Linked DNA regions of Homo sapiens: region 1 is linked to region 2. The links are contacts of gene promoters, found by promoter capture Hi-C in human tissues and cell types (Jung and others, 2019). All regions are on one chromosome and are shown on one strand. Each heading gives the region's core, a stretch centred on a gene start or on the middle of the fragment in contact. The rest is flanking DNA. Distances are from core to core; before and after follow the strand shown. Region 1 overlaps LOC112268030 (a long non-coding RNA gene). Region 2 holds the start of AARD (alanine and arginine rich domain containing protein).

What was found. Contacts are between HindIII fragments. The study calls those that stand out against the background at their distance.
Region 1: a fragment that was not itself captured here is called in contact with the fragment with the promoter of AARD in region 2 in 1 of the 25 tissues and cell types used here (IMR-90 fibroblasts).

Annotation. Positions count from the first base shown.
Region 1 is chr8:116,797,756-116,803,265 of GRCh38, reverse strand. All of the region lies in intron 2 of LOC112268030 (a long non-coding RNA gene), which reads right to left. Among named protein-coding and RNA genes, the nearest start is that of UTP23, 34 kb to the right of the region's middle. The HindIII fragment of the contact is 4,683 bases long and covers 1-3,968 here.
Region 2 is chr8:116,934,760-116,940,344 of GRCh38, reverse strand. AARD (alanine and arginine rich domain containing protein) reads right to left here and starts at 2,138. Exons shown (of 2, transcript NM_001025357.3): 1 at 1,778-2,138. The coding sequence starts at 2,101. RefSeq lists a silencer at 1,769-1,868. The HindIII fragment of the contact is 10,639 bases long and covers 1-5,585 here.

The DNA.
Region 1 (5,510 bases), core at 378-2,877, 140 kb after region 2:
ACAACTTACAGATGACACAGCTGCAGGTCTTGGCTATTCAGATTTAGCTGCCTCATGGTGCAAGAAACTGCTGTGCAGAGGCAATGATCATTTTTATGAGTATGGTTCTCAAAAATCTGTGAAACTATTTGTTTTTGCTCTGTCTTGCTAAACCGCCCTTACCTGTTCCTCTCCTACAACTATAAACCTTGATTGCTGGTCAGTCAACACAGGCTTTGTCCACATCCACAAAAATCTAAAGACAGAACTAAGGCAATTACTAGAACGGTGCTTCACAAACATCCATGGGCATTCAAGCTGCCTGGGATATTGTTACGATGCAGGCTGTGATTCACTATGTCCTGAGTGGAGCCTGAGTTCCGCATTTCTAACAAGCTGCCAGGCATTGCTGATAGGGACAAGGACCCAGCTCACCAAGACCTGCAATTGAACTCCCTGAGATTAGATTCAGGCCATGATGAAAGAAACTGGGGTTTTTCTTTCTTTCTTTTTTTTTTAAGGGGCTTGGATTGACTTAGTTAAACAAAGGGCTTGTGGTCAGCTAGTGCCTCTCTAGTGGATGAGATCATAACATGTGAGAGGGCATGAAAAGGACATGAAGATGAAGTTTGTCCTGGCACTATTAGAATCCATGGTTGCAGTGGCCCCTGAAGCCCTGCTGAATCCCATGGAGTCTGGTTGTTAACAGTGCATTGGATTGCCAGAGCCAATAACTTCCTTGCTTTGCTTAAGCAGGTTGAATTGGACTCTATCTCTTAGAACCATGATTGCTCCAACGATTGCGTCCAAATTGTGATGCAATGACTTCATAAATTATCATATATCCCTACAGAAGAATTATACAGCTGTCAAAAAGTATTATTTCAAAAAACTTATTCGGATGGACAAATAATACAAGGGTAAATGACAAAGGCATAACATCAATGTATCTATACAGAATAATCTGAATTATATAAATTCGAGAAGAATATTAAGTAAATGCTCCAAAACATAGACAGTAGTTAAGGTCGACTGAATAACCCCCTCCAATATCTCCATATCCTAATCCCTTGAACATATGAATTTTATTTTATATGGCAAAAGAGACTTTGCTGATGTCATTAAATTAAGGACGTTGAGATGGAGAGATTATCCTGGATTACCTGGGTTGGCCCAATATGATCAGACTGGTCTTTATAATAACTCAGGAGAAGGCTCAAGCCTGTAATCCCAGCATTTTGGGAGGCTGAGGCGGGCGGATCATGAGGTCAGGAGATCAAGACCATCCTGGCTAACACAGTGAAACCCCGTTTCTACTAAAAATACAAGAAAAATTAGCCAGGCATGGTGGCAGGCACCTGTAGTCCCAGCTGCTCGGGAGGCTGAGGCAGGAGAATGGCTGAACCCGGGAGGTGGAGCTTGCAGTGAGCCGAGACTGCGCCACTGCACTCTAGCCTGGGCGACAGAGCAAGACTCCGTCTCAAAAAACAAAAAAAAAAAAGAAAACTCAGGAGAAGGCAGAGTTAGAGGAAAAGGGGATATGATGCCAGAAGCAAAATTGAAGATGAGGGAAGGAGGTTACAAAGAAATGTGGGTAGCCCCCAGCAACAAAAAGGCAAGGAAACAGGTTTTCCCTAGGGCCTCTAAAAGGAATGAGCCCTGCCCACACCTTGACTTCAGCCTGGGAAAGTCAATTCAGAATTCTGATCTCCAGAAGAATAAACTTGTGTTATTTAAAGCCATTAAATTTGTGTTAATTTGTTATAGCAGCAATAGGAAACTAACACAATAATTGGCTCTGTACTTCCACTTAATCAACATATGCTACTTTTATAAGAAAAAGGCAACTTAATTTAAAGGAAGGAATAAGTATAGCTTGCTATAAGAGGTATTATGAATAACACTTTTAACAGTTGAATGTAGCTTGGTTGCTGTTGTTTTCTAGGACTGTAGGATATAATCACAGTGTAGTCTAATTTCAACACAGCAAGAGAATGTCACCCTTTAATAATAGAATTCTGATCTCATCACTCCCTTGGGTAAACTCTTGGCTTCTGCTATTAATATCCAACAGGTGACTTAGCAATGTGTATTCACAAGATCAACACCTTTTGATAATTAAAAGGCCCAGTGGCACACTCAAATCACAGAGCACACTGAAGGCAGAACAAGCTCCTGACTCTATTTTGAATTCTCCTTTCTCCTCTCAGTATATTCCCAGCATGGTGGCTTTGGAATCACCAAAAACAAAAGGAAAGTGACATGACTGCTATTTGCCCTAGGAAGTCTAGTGTAATACTAAAAATCTTAAAACTCTAAATGCTGCTCATGAAGCAAACACACAAGGCTGCAGAATCCTGTTGTAACATTCCCAACCCCAGATGGGGTTCCCTGGCCCCACCTCTGAACCCTCAGAGTTGTCTGTGTACATTTTTATCCCATCCTATCATAATTATTTGTTTATGCACCCACTTTCCCAGCTAGACCTTTGGTTTCCTCTAGCGTAGGGGCTGTGTCTTATTCTTCTTTGATTTTCCACCCTAAAACAGTGTCTGGCATAGAGAAGGCATTTAATAAATGTTTGTTGAATTAAATTCAATTGACTCCTGGCCTTAGCAACAGAACTTTAGAGCTCTTACCCAACATAATAAGAATTCAACTTTCTTGATTTTATCTTCAAAGTACTTTGCTAAAGTGGAACGACATGACGTCTTGACCAACTCTTCCCCCAGGCTTTCGGCAAACATGAGATTTCTTCTCGGAAAGACCTGTCAATCTCTGTTCAACTTGGGTTTAGATTTCAAAGGTTAAAATTCGGACAGTGCCCTGGAACTCCAAAAGCATCTACGATGAGTGAGAGCCCCATTCAAGTCCCCTAGTTTCTCTTCCCTAGGTTTGATTCAATCCAGGCCAATATTGGTTAATGCCAGCTCTATCCCTTCCTCCTTAGGATGTTTTGCTAAATGTGTGTGGAGATGTAAAAATGCTATGGAATTCTTGATTCCTTAGGATCTTCTCAAGAAGCTTCTAAAGTGGCTGTATAGAGTTCCTTTAGCATGCCATACTATATAAGCATTTTGGCTTTGAAGTCATATTGATCTGGGTTTAAATTCCAACTGTAACTTTGGTAGCTATGAGACATGTGGTGTGTTATTTTATCTATCTGAACTTCAGTTCCCTTATTTAAAAACTGATGATAAAGTATCTACCTATTGAGATTGTTGTATACTTATATAAATTTGTGTAACATAGAAGGATTCCTGTACATAGAAAGTGCTCAAGAAGTAATGGCTGTTACTATTATGAATAATAATAATTATCCCACACAAGAGTCTCCAGAGAGAATAAGGCCCAATGCTGTATATGCCAAACTACCCTAGATTTAGATTTGGAAGACAGATCGTCCCTGGTATTTTTGCTTTTATATAGCCCCATCTACAGTGAGACCATAAGGAAAAATATGCTCTTCTTAGTCAATAGAACTTCCACCACCAAAGAGAGAAGACTCATCACTAATAAACAAATAACTCAAATATTCCCATTTGGACTAACCTTGTACATATCCATGCAGTTTTTCCTCTTCTTTGGAAATTAACCCATGATTGACCTCTTACCTCCACCCATTCATTTCCAAATATCACTAATATTTTAGGATTGAAGTCTCAAAACACCACAGTTGAGAAACTTCTGTTTTTAACCAAGATGGAATAACAGGGACTAGATTTACTCACCCAGCTGAAATAACAGCAGTATATATAAAATAAGGGTTTTCAAGATATTGAACATCAGCAACAAAGATATGTTTCCTGAGAAGTAAAAAGAAATGAAATGACTTCTACAGTTGCTGTAACTTTCTGCCTAGAGAGAGTTTCCAGGCTACAGAGCATGGAAGGGGAGCCCATCAAACTTCCTGAGACAAAGTTGGAAGTCCAGAGAGATAAGCTGGCTCGTGTTCCCAGGACAGAGTACCAGAGATGAGTGAGCTGCGGAGAGAGAGAACTTGGGAGATCTGCAGAGGGTGCCTGAGTTTTCAGCTGAGTACTGATCAGCTTATATGTAAGGAAACTACCTAAGGATAGGAAAAGAACCATTTGAAAGCATTATAAGGGGCAACACTTGGAATTCAAACAGAGCCCCCCCCACCAAAAAAAATTCCTGTTCCTACCAGCCAGAATGAAGAATATCACAATTTACAGAATGTTGGGTAGGTGCTCCAAAAAAGTGAGGCAGAATTAGCCTCAGACTTAACACAACTGTGATCTCACCTAATAACGTTTAACAGCAAACCTAAAATGATATTGTTTCCAAGTAACTTAACTGCCTAAAAAAATCTCAATATCTATAGGAATAGAAAAGTGTAGCCACCCTACAAGGTACAATTTTCAATGTCTGGCATTTAATTAAAACTTCTAGTCATGCAAATAAACAGGAAAATATAATGAGGAGAAAAACCAGTCGATGGAAACAGACCCATAAATGACACAGATATAGAATTAGTAGAGAAAAACACAAAAACACTTATTGTAATGTATTCCATTGTTCAAGAGCCAGAGAAAAGATGGAGCACATTCAATAAAGACAATGCAAAATTTTTAAAGACCCCAATCAATCATCTAGAAATGAAAACTATAATGTCTGAAATAAAAAAACACAAAGACAAACAATTGAATAAAATTAATAGCTAACTGAACATTGCAAAAGACAAGATTAATAAACTTGAAGGTATAGCAACAGAAATGATCCAAAATGAAACACAAATAGAAAAAACACTGAAAAAAAATAGAGCATCATTGAGCTGTGGGACAATTTCAGGAAACCCAATGTATGTGCCACTGGAGTCCAGCAAAGAAAGGACAGAAGCAGAAAAAAACACGTGAAGAAATAATAGTGGAAAACTTTTCTAATTTGATGAAAACTATAAACTCACAAACCCTAGGCTCAACTAATTCCAAGCTTAAGAAACATGAACAAAACTATACAAGGGTACATTATAATCAAATTGCATCTAACCAGTAATAAAGAAAAAAAAAACCTTAAAAGCATCCAGATGAACAAGACACATTAAATATAGAGGAACAAAAAAAAGAAGACAGAGGTTACATATTGGAAACAATACAAAGCTAGAAGAACGTGAAGCAAAATCTTTAAAATCCTAAAAGATAAAAACTATCACCCTAGAATTCTATACCTAATAAAAATTTGTTTAAAAAATGAAGGGGAACTAGAAATCAGTAACAGGAGAAATGTAGGAAAAATTGAAACTAAAATTAAACAACATGCTCCTGAACAAACAATGGGTCAAAAGAAAAATGAAAAGGAAAAATTTTAAATATCTTTAGAGAAACAAGAATGGAAACAAAACACACCAGAACTTATGGAATATAGCAAAAGCAGTTTTGAGGGGAAATTTATAGCAATAAATGACTTATTAAAAAAAAGAAGAAAGATCTCAAATAAACAGACTAAGGTTACCTCAAGAAACCAGAAAAAGAAAAGCCAGCTAAGCCCAAAGTTAGTAGAAGGAAGAAAAT
Region 2 (5,585 bases), core at 889-3,388:
ATAGTAATCATTATAATAATAAGAGCCACTAAACAATACCCATGGTCTAAGCATTTCATGGAATATTATCTCACATAAGCTCTGGAATCCTATGAGATTATAAATTCCATTTTACAGATGGGTAAACAAACTCAAACTGGCTAAGTAACGATCCCAAAGTTGTAAGGCCAACAAGTGTTAGCAGAACCTGTAAATGGTAATGTTGGTATTTGAGCCCTCATCTGTTTAGATTTTATTGCCACCAGCGGTCTACAGCCATACCACCCTGAACGCACCCGATCTCGTGAGATTTTATTGCCACCCCCAACATATTGCTTGTCTAAAGCTCCTAACAAGCAACTTATTAAAATGTTATGATTGAAAGCTGTCTCTGAGCTTATTCAGTGTAATCTCCTCATCTGATTTAAATATGAGTCCCCTGAGGCTCAGGAAGGAGTACCGGCAGATCCCAAGACTACAATGCAGAGATGGCTGCGCCAGGTTTCAGCCTTCCAGTTTAGCATCCTGGCCCATAGCACAGGCCTCCAGTGGCCGAATGAGGTGGCTCCGGCTACCCTGCAGCTCAGACTCACTGCTTAGACTCAGGGTGAAAACCAGGTGTTTCTTTGACATTGTTGGATAAGATAGTAAATCTGGTAGTAAATCTAATGTAACCCATGTTAACAATCTGAATCTGACACGGAATTTAGGATATTGTCCTTTTTTTGTTTTTGAGACGTTGTTTCACTCATGTCTCCCAGGCTGGAGTGCAATGGCGCAATCTCAGCCCACTGCAGCCTCTGCCTCCCAGGTTCAAGCGATTCTCCTGCATCAGCCTCTGGAGTAGTTGGGATTACAGGTGCCAGCCACCATACCTGGCTAATTTTTGTATTTTTAGTAGAGACAGGACTTCACCATTTTGGCCAGGCTGGTCTCGAACTCCTGGCCTCAGGTGATCCACTTGCCTCGGCCTCCCAAAGAGCTAGGATTACAGGCATGAGCCACAGCTCCGGCCTAATACTGTTCTTCTTAAACTTAGAAATGCGATAACATTCTTAAATAAGACAATTTACTAATGGTTGGCTCAGTTCTAAAGTAGTGGTTAATTGTATTAGTAATCAGTGCAAAAGAGAAGAATTTTCCAAGTCAAGTCTCCACTGCACACTTTCCTAGGCAGCACCATTTTAAAGTCTGATTGCTCCTATTCATTGTGTCCTTTTCAAGTTGTGACTAATTTCCAGTTTTTTGAATTAAAAAAAATCAGTCAGCTAAAATATTTACCTATACACCCTCCTGTTTAATATTCGGATGTAACCTGTGTAATGTTCGAAATGGTGCAATTTTACAAAATACCTTATCACTTCCAGTTTTCTAAATTATTACCCACGGGAAAGATAAGAATAAAACTTGCGGGGCATAAAGAAAGAGTTACTGATGGACACACTCCATCAATCGCAAGAGAGAGTTTATTTCATGGAAATTTCCTCCTCCGCGAGCCATACATACACATAGTCACAGTTCCCTACAGGGCAGAAAACTATAGAAACGGGTTGGGGAGGAGACATCTTGGGTATGTCACTGGTAGACCAGGCACCCCCGCCCCCACCCCCCACCATGGGTCCTGCAGGGCCCTTTTCCTTCCCAACGATGCTGGGGAGGCGGGGGCGTCAACGCCGTGTCCAGACCTGAGGGGCCCCCCAAGGCGTCGGGTGGGCTACGCGGCCAGCGGCTCTGCAGCTGGAGGAGAGGACCCGGGAGAGGGAGCCCTGGGAGCCGTCCGCCTAGCCCGCTCTCTCACCAGCTCCGCCCGCAGCCTGGCCAGGGTGGCCTCAACGCCCGTCCAGCTCTGCTCCTCCCGCGCCGCCGCCGCCGCCGCCGCCTCCTGCACGCGCCTCGAGATCGCGCGCTGCACCGCCCACTGGAAGGCGCGCGTCAGCCGTCGTCTGAGGTCCTCCAGCAGCGGGCTGGCGGCGAGGGCCTCCTCCTGGATGTCCGTGCTCCTGCCGTCCCCGAAGAAGTCGCACGCGGGACGAGGTGGGAACCAAAGCTCCGCTCTACCTGGGAGTCCCTGGAGCCCCTGGGAAATTCTCTCTCTGCAGCGGCGGAAGTCCCCGGGGCCCATCGCGGAGACGCCTGGTCACTGCTCTACCGCTGCTGCTGAAAGATGAGTTTCTAAGTTTGATGTTTAGGGCGGGGTCAGGGCGGGGGCGGAGGTAATTCAAGGACCCTTGCCAAGTGGGATGCTGCAACTGCCCCGCCATTCAGAGACGCTCCTTTGCTCCCAGTCCCATCTTAGTCCTCCATTAGCGACAGAGGAAGGAGGCGGTTCCCATAACTCCAGGAGAAGTTTAAGCTGAGTCGCTTTTTTCTGCTGCTTGCATTGAAAGGAAGTCTTTCTAAGGAGAAGGCTTGGTAACTGAGCAGTCAGCCTATGTAAGTGGAAGTTGAGGTACAGGTGGAAGGTTTATGACCAAAGGTTAGAATATTTCAACCCAAAGCCTTCCTGGTTGCCTTGATCGTCTAATACGTCATTCCTTAAAAACAATTTTTTTTCTTCCTACTCTGCCAGGCACTTTGCCAAGTTTGGGGAATGCAAAGGCTTAATTAGACCCCTCACCTTTCCCCAGGTATTGCCCGCAGTCAAGGGGGAGAGCCTTGGCCCTGCTTGCTAGTTAGAATGTACCTTCTACAGGTTCAGTAAGGCATACCTGGAAGTCTGAGTCTCCATGCTCCTTTCTATTTTGACTCCTGTCTGCCATGTCCACGTTTATGAAGGGGTTAAAATGAAAAATCAAAATTCCCCTTAGCCCAAAGTGTGTGTGTTTAATTCCCAACTAATAAGGTTTGGCTCTGTGTCATCACCAAATTCCAGTGGAATTGTAATCCCCAGTGTTGGAGATGAAGCCTGGTGGGAGGTGATTGGATCATGGAGGTAGAGTTCTCATGAATGGGTTTAGCCCCATTCCCGCCTGGTACTTTATAGTGAATGAGTTCTTACCAGATCTGGTTGTTTAAAGTGTATGGCACCTCCTCTCTCTCTCTCACTCCTGCTCTGCCATGTAAGACACTTGCTCTCGCTTTGCCTTCCACTATGAGTAAAAGCTCCCTGAGGCCTCCCCAGAAGCAGATGCTGCCATGCTTTCTGTATAGCATACAGAACCATGAGCCAATTAAACCTCTTTTCTTTCCAAATTACCCAGTCTCCGGTATTTCTTTATAGCAGTGAGAGGACAGACTAATACACCAACTCCAGGTAATCATGTGCCAATATTACCTGTATATCCTTTATCAAAGAACATATTCTGCCTCTTTTTGATCTAATAGGGAATTTCTAAAAAGGAGTGAACAATCAAAACTTTTGTATGATCAAAGAATGCAATTACAAAAAAAAACAAAACATAGTTTAGACACAACTCTCATCTTATTCATCATTCATTCATTCATTCATTCAAAAGTTACAAGTCACTTGCAATGTTCCAGGGTCCATGGTAGGCATTGAAGGCAATAACAACTGATTTTTATTCATGCTTAGTATGTGCCAGGCAATTTTTATGTATTAATCTTCACAGCAACCTTGTGAGGTAAGTACTATTAGTTTCTGCATTTTACAATTGAGGAAACTAAGGCAAGAGATTAAGACGTACACCAAAGATCTCAAAGCTGGTAAGGGATCCACTGGAAATTTGCACCTAGGAAGTCTGGCTTGTGCTCCAAACCACTGGGATACACCCTGGATACGCTTTATCTCCCAAAGAGGAAGAGAGTTGCTCAGTTTATATGTTGCATGAGTGAGTGAGTAAGAGTGAATAAGTGTTTAAATTCACTATGTTCATAAAATTCGGCTCTATTGAAATGGCTTAAGGCTCAACTGGATAAGGAACAATACAGGTTACTCAGCCTGTGCAGATAATCTACTAAATTGAACAGCTTGCAATAGTTTACAACCCAAGCACAGTAAAATTCCTACCATTGTATATTGCTTCATAAAGATTCCCTAGAAACATCTGAAGATGTGTTGTCTTGGTAGAAATTATAAAAATCCATGTGGTCTGCCATGCAGCAATGGAGTGTGAATTTAGGGTTTTTTGTTTGTTGGTTGGTGATAGGTTGATGGGGCTTGAAAACCACCACTAGTCAATGTACAATATAAACGTTTAAAATGAATTTTTTGCTATGATTTTTCACTTCCATTTCCAGATCATTTACTTCAACAAGAATTTCAGTTAAGTTCAATTTAACTCAACAGTGAATGGCGCATGTTCAGTGTTAAGAATTGTGCCATATGAGGGAGATACAAAGATGAATAAGGCATAGTTTTTGTCCCCCAGAAGCTTAAAACCTGAGGAAGCAAATTTATTGATTCATTCATTTAACAATATTTATTTAATGTCTTATTATGTACCAAGCATTACACAAGGTGCTCAAGCTACAATGGCAAACCAAGGAGACAAAATGTTTTTTTAAAATAAACTGGTTTACCACAAATTAATAATTTTCCTCTATAGGTTAATTTTTCAGTTGTGGTACACCTTGAATTTTACAATTTTTTTTCTTTCTCTTACACAGGCAAAGCAAATTGAAGAATTGGAGCACTGAATATAACATCCACAGACATTTGAATTAGAAAATGTATTAATTATTTATTGCTGCATAACAAATTACTCCAAAATTCAATGGTTTAAAAAAATAAACATTTATTTTCTCTGACAGCTTCTGTGGGAAAGAATTTGGGAACAGCTTAGGTTATGGTCCTTAGCTTTTATGCTGTTGTAACCAAATGTCAGGCAAGGTCTCCATCCTCTGAAGCTGGATGTGATTGGCGCTGGAGGATCTGCTGGCAAGGTGAATCACTTAGATGAATCACTCAAATGCCAGGCAATTGGAGCCAGCACTTGGTGGGAGGCCTCAGTTCCTCTCCATGTGGACTCTTTCCTACTATTGTGTAAGCGTCTTCATGATATAGTGGGTAGACTTCCCTCAAAACAAGAAGAGAGAAATACAGAGAGCCAGAGAGAAGCTCTTTACATGTGCTCTGAACTACATTTTTATGACCTGGCTTTGGAAGTCAGTTATTACCATTCTGCTGATCAGTATCAAGTCTCTAAGTTGGAGCTATATTCAAGGGGAGGAACCTCAGCTCCACCTTTTGAAGTAGGGAGTATCAAAAATTTCCAAATATATTTTTAAACTACCATGGGAGAAACATATGTACATTACACGTAAGTAAACAATGATACAAATGACTTCTGACTTCCTGCAGAAAAAAAAAGGAGTCCAGAAAACATTGAGATATTTTTAAACGCAGAGAGAACTAAATTAACACAGAATTCTAAGTTCAGCAAAAATATCCTCCCAAAAACCAATCTCAAAAAGCATGTTTTTAAAAAAGGAAAATTAGGAAAATTTGTCACAAGCAGGCTTACACTATAAGAAGTACTAAAGGAAATTCCTCAGCTGAAGTAAAATAATAGTACAGGGAAACACAGATCTTCAGGAAGAAATGAGTAACATAAGAAATGGTAAGTATCTAGGTATACGTAAGTGACTTTGATTCCTCTTAATTAATAAACATATGGTTTTATATATATGTTTTTAAAAAACAAATA